2 separate regions of the Homo sapiens genome follow, and region 2 is linked to region 1. Evidence: promoter capture Hi-C in 16 types of primary human blood cells and fetal thymus (Javierre and others, 2016). All regions are on one chromosome and are shown on one strand. Each heading gives the region's core, a stretch centred on a gene start or on the middle of the fragment in contact. The rest is flanking DNA. Distances are from core to core; before and after follow the strand shown. Region 1 holds the start of KLHL32 (kelch like family member 32). Region 2 overlaps ZBTB2 (zinc finger and BTB domain containing 2).

Region 1 (2,896 bases), core at 256-2,755:
AGTAGAAAAGATGAACAAATATCCAAGGAAAACAAAATTAATTCTTGAATGCCAGTGGATCTTTACTGGGCCATTTGTTTGTGATGGAGGCATGAAATTCGTGCAAAGTGTAATTACTGGATTGCTGATGCCTTCAAGTACTGTGTTACAAGTTCACCCAATAGACACCCGAGACCTCAAAATAAAACAAAACTGACAGCCCAGGTATTAGGCTGACCTGTTCCATTGGCCTATCAGTGTTCCAGTAGAGGACCCAGTCCCATCAGAAAAAAAACAAAAAGCAAAAACCACTGCACTTTCATATAAGCTCTAGTAAGCCATGGCACACATTTTATATCTATCTCTATCTGTGTATAGAGATAGATCTAAAAATAATCAATAAGAGATTTTTTAAAAAACAGAATCTTCTCAGAAATGAGCAGAGGTGCAAAAAACTGCGCTTCAATACTGATGCAGGGGATATAAAAATGCTAGCAAAGATGTATGTCATGAATGCTACCTTCTTACGTTACGAATTCACAAACGTATTCCTGTTCTGGTCAATTTACAATAGAAGCTCATTCTTGTGTGGGGAAACACAATTAAATCATCTGCTTTTAATTTAAAATAATCACGACTAAGTGAACTGCAAAATAAAACTGGAAATAGAGGGGAAGAAGGGATCTAAACTGCAGTCATCTTTCTTTATAAGATCACCAAAATGGGAGTAAATTATGATTCAAGACACAATCCGTTGAAAAATTCATCTGACGAATCCTTTTTAAAGCATACCATATAGTGCAATTACGGCTTTTCTTGAAGTTGAATGAAACCGCCACCTGAATACAGATTAACAAATGCCAAATTACGAAAGGTCCTCAGTGTATATTTTATTTTAAATATCAAAATAAATAACGGCATCATTTAAGAAACCAGTTCTTTCAATAGATGTCCCACGGCTGATGTTTAAGCAAGTCTCCTTGGCAACCAAGGAGCACAGTACATATTGGGCTCAGGGGGAGGGAAGAAAGGGGGAGCGACTCCAGGGCTGGCAGCATAAGTAACCTGAGTAGTGGCTGCTCCCGTTAGACGACACGGGCAGAGGCTGCATGGGCTGCAAGCCCCTGAAATGTCAACTCCGGGTCTGCCCCCACTTGGCGCACCAGCAGCCTCCCACCCTCTTCCTCAGGTCTGCAGAACAGGTTACAAGGAGAGAGACTGGCTTACCCGATGGGGTGAGCGGTCTGCTGGGTTAGGTGCCAGAGACGGCAGCGCAGGCACCGGCCTCTCCTTGATGCACAATGGCTCTGCTTCGCCCCACGATGCTGAGGTTAACAGAACCCGCAGTAGCTTCGCTCTGCTGGTTCGGGGATGCAGTAGCGAAGACGAGCGTCCTAGCGTGTTTGTGTGTGCGAAAGTGTGTGTGTGTGTGTGTGTGTGTGTGTGTGTGTGCCTGCGTGCGTGTGTGCGCGCGACTGCCTGCGCGCTCCCGAACTGTCGCGCGGGGAAACTGCTCCCTAGTAAATAAAAAGCCCTAGCCAGCACTGCAGGTGGCACGTCCCGCTGACTCCGCCCCAGGCGGTCGCGTCAGACTGGAGACGCACCTTGGCACCCCCGGGGCGGGTTCAGACGCCACAGGGCTCCGCCCCCTCCCGCCTCCAGCTAGCCCGCGCGCTCCCTCCCCCTCCCCCGCGATCCCGCGCACATCCTTTCGCCACCCCGCGCGCAACGCCACCGCCCGCCGCCAGCGCGCTCGCTCCCCTGCCGCCCCCCGCCCCCGCCCCCGCCGTCGGCGAGCTGCCAGCGCGCGCCCGCCGGTCCCGGAAGTACCCTCCTCCACGCCGCCCTCCTCCTCGCTCTCCGGCACCTGCGTCGCCGGCCCCTGGGTCACATGCGCAGTCTGTAGCCACCACTGCGGCGACTGAGACCCGGGAACCCAGCCTGCTCGCCCCCAGACTCCTTTCCCAGGGCTGGCGGGCAATCTGAGCAAACAGACCCCGTGGCCCTAACTCGGTGTTCCAGGGAGTCCTTGCTCTGCTAACTTGTGAAGTTCAAGTTGCCTCTAGTCCTAGCGGCCCTACAGTGGCCCTCCTTAGGATAATACACTCTATGGTACTGACCAGAACAAATTCACAGTAACTTTAAGAAACGTCAGGGGAACCAACCCGCCAGAGGTGGACGAAATCCCCAAGCCTGAGAAATGAGAAAGGGTGTGATTACTGTGGTTACTACTAATTCAGCAATAAAACCGCAAACAGACAACAACCACAGAACCATACCATTAAATTCCAGGGCCTGGCACACTCAAGTGCCACTTCCGAGTCATTCAGGTCACTCCTGTGTAAAACATGCTGAGAAACTCACACTAAAGCAAAGTGGGTAATTTTAATAGGTAAGTATTCCACCACCGAATTGAAAACCTTAGTCCAACGTGGAGGTAAGACACCAGAAGCAGGAAGAGTGTAACTAAATTGGAGTAAACTGTATTTTGTAGAAGTTCAGGATTTAACTTACTGCAAAGATAGTATGTTAATCCTATTTCTTGCAGGTTTATGTTCTGCCACAGAGTTGGGCTAGGAACAGTGCCCTGATCTATTTTGAGGTGTCCTTAATGTTCTCATTGGTCTCAAATCAGTGGTTCAGCGATTATTTTCTACTTCTAGATCCACAGGATTTGGGGGTTTATTCGTTTGCTCCCTCTGGAGGTTATCTGTCTGGCTTGTAGTGCTTCATTTTCATGGTTTTGATATCTGGACGCTAGGATGCTGGGTACCTACTTATCTAGCAGTCCTGGACACAGCATAGGACAAGGGAAAGAATGACAAACAACTGACTACAAACATTAGGTGCAGTGTCATCCTAAGAATTTTTCATAAGCAACTTGATAGTTTTCATTGCGTTGTCTTCTATCAGAAAA
Region 2 (2,774 bases), core at 59-2,558, about 54 Mb before region 1:
GCTCTTACTGTTTCTTGGTGCTTCATTCCTAGCCCCACTCACCTTTCCCTGTAGGAACTTGGAAAAGCTGGGCAAGTCCCGTGGCACCAGCCTGCACAGGAGAGGAAGATTGAAAGAACTGGTTTGCTGGTAATTTTTTTACCATAAAATACCAAATGCACCTGGGAAAGGTCATTTATCATCACTTTTCCTATTTTCTTATGCTCTTTGGCTCTCCAAACATGACTGAAAACCTAAAAGGGAACTGAACATTTTTATTTCCCTGAAGAAAAAAAAAAAATGTAAACATTCTAAGCATTAGACTAAGAATATTTCTAAAACGTTCTTTATGCTCAAGTAGGTTATAATTTGTGCTAGCAAATTAAACTATTAAATAATTAAAATATTACTTCGAATTGATAGTAAATAAGATTCAGTATTTTTACAATGCCGATAGAGCCATTAAGATATGGAATCAGTAGCCACAGAACCCTTACAAGGAGTTGGCAGCCCAACATATGTAGATCCATTTTAGAAGCCAACTTGGAGGCTCATATTTATGCTCAAACTCATAACCCCCAGTTCACATGCTTGAGGTATGCATCACATGCCTTTGAGTGTCACTTTAAGAAAGTTCAGTATTCAAAGATAGGAATTTGAAAAATACTTTTATGTATCTGGCTAAGTACTTAGGGAAACTACTTTTTTACTTTTGTTAGAGATTTTAGTGTACTGTTCTCTTAAACAGGGGGCACTCGCTAAGTTCTGCACCAAGCAGGGTAAGCGTCAGAATCCTCTGGAATGAAGTGCGCATGTTCTCCTGCACCGGGAGAGTCATTTAGGTTCTCTGAGTCCCCAAAGTGATTCTGAACGGCGCTTGTCTAAGTGTGGTCTGCAGATCCTTTTGAAGCCCCAGGATCCTTTCAGGATTCAATGAAGTCAAAACTGTTGTCACAGTAATACTAAGTTGTTATGGCCTTTTCCGCTGTGTTGACAAAATGTCTTCTCAGTGTTGACACTGAGAAGATCTGCTTAATTCAGTGAGCCGATATTTTCCAAATGACCAACAGATGATGTTAAAAATCATGAGTGGGTAAATGATCCGTTGAAAGTGGATAGACCAATGAATATTACTATAATAGAGTAGGAAAAGTTAATTCAGTTATGTAGTTTTATATTACACAACCAACTTTTAAGAAAGTAGACTTGTCAAGTGTTGGTATAATATAAAAGAGGACTGTCCACAATTACCTGAAAAGGCTATTCAAATATATCTCCTTTTTCCAACTACATAGGTGGGTGAGGCTGGATTTTCTTCACTACTCAACCAAAACAGAGTTAATTGAGGAGTAAATGCAAAATCCAGTTGTCTTCTGTTAAAGAGAATTGCAAAAATATAAAAAGACACCACTTTGTTATTTTAGAAAATACAATTATTTTTTCATAAAAATGTTCTGTACTTTAACATGTAATGGCCTTATTGTTTTTAATTGAATTAAATATTTCTAAAATTTCTCCATTTTGGTAATTATCAGTAGTTAAAATCCATATAAACATATAATTGATGTTCTTAATAATTTTTAAGACCATTAAGGGATCCCAACACCAAAAAGTTTCAGAAGCTCTGCTCTAAAATATTGAAACATATTATTAAGACTTTGAGTTAAACACATTTGAAACTCACCTGTGTTATATACCCTGAACTACACATTTAGGTGATTATATTTTCTTCAGATTAATTTTACTAATCATTTTATGGTATATAAAAAACAAAGGCAATCTCCACTCTGGTGGATTATTAGAAGCAGATCAGTTTTTTGTTGTTGTTGTTTTGAGACAGGGTCTCACTCTTTCATGCAGGCTAGAGTGCAGTGGCATGACCATGGCTCACAGCAGCCTCAGCCTCCCTGGCTCAAGCAATCCTCCCACCTCAGCCTTCTGGTAGCTGGGACCATGGGCACATGCCACCACATTCAGCTAATTTTCTTTTTATAGAGACAGGGTCTCGTCATGTTGCGCAGGCTGGTCTCCGGGGCTCAAGTGATCTGCCCGCCTTGGCCTCCCAAAGTGCTGAGATTACAGGGGTGAGCCACTGTCCCAAGCCCAGATTAATTTTTTAATTTTGCCGTGTGTAATCATCTGTAAGTTTCCTTCAGGTTGATTGTAGCATAATGCCTTTAGAATTATTACTTTAATATGAACTCGTTATTAGCCATAAATCTCTGATCTACTTCTGTTTGACACCTAAGATGTCCCTGAATTGCCTCCTTATGACCCCAACTTACATTTGGAAACTAAAAACTAATTTAAGTGTAAACATAGGGAAAATATAATTGAAAACAGGAGTATTTTACAAATGCAGTGCTTTTTAATATGAAAATAAGTGCTGTTTATGCCTCTCTCTTTTCTAATTACTATGGAAGAAGGTTGACTAAGGAAATGTTAAGAAAAAAATGCCACTCCATTATCACAACTAAATAAGATGCATTTTCTACCTTCAAAATACAGTTTTAAAATGTATTAAAATTCAAATGACCAGCCTTCAGGTTTACTTCATGGGCCCTCCAATATTAATTATTAATAATAGTAATTGAAAAATCAGCTTTTCATCCTAGTAAGTGGTCTAAACTACTTGAAAGAATCAATCTTACTTGTGGGTAATGCCTCTGCTGTTACTGATTGTCCTTTGAATTACAATATTCATTTATGCTTCACTTAAATAAAATCAAGGACTTCAGAGGACCCTTTTAGTGCCCTTGAAATGGGTAGTGTAAGTGGTGTTTAGTGTCTTAGAA

What was found. The method cuts DNA at HindIII sites, captures the fragments that hold promoters and counts their contacts. A CHiCAGO score of 5 or more calls a contact.
Region 2: a contact is called between a fragment that was not itself captured here and the fragment with the promoter of KLHL32 in region 1, in 1 of 17 cell types (total B cells). The highest score is 5.2, in total B cells.

What each region holds. Positions count from the first base shown.
Region 1 is chr6:96,923,337-96,926,232 of GRCh38, reverse strand. KLHL32 (kelch like family member 32) reads right to left here and starts at 1,505. Exons shown (of 11, transcript NM_052904.4): 1 at 1,207-1,505. RefSeq lists a silencer at 1,469-1,778. The HindIII fragment of the contact is 7,655 bases long and covers 1-2,896 here.
Region 2 is chr6:151,385,572-151,388,345 of GRCh38, reverse strand. The region is part of intron 1 of ZBTB2 (zinc finger and BTB domain containing 2); the gene reads left to right. LOC124901232 (translation initiation factor IF-2-like) reads right to left here and starts at 26. Exons shown (of 3, transcript XM_047419613.1): 1 at 9-26. The coding sequence starts at 26. RefSeq lists an enhancer at 2,725-2,774. The HindIII fragment of the contact is 3,678 bases long and covers 1-2,774 here.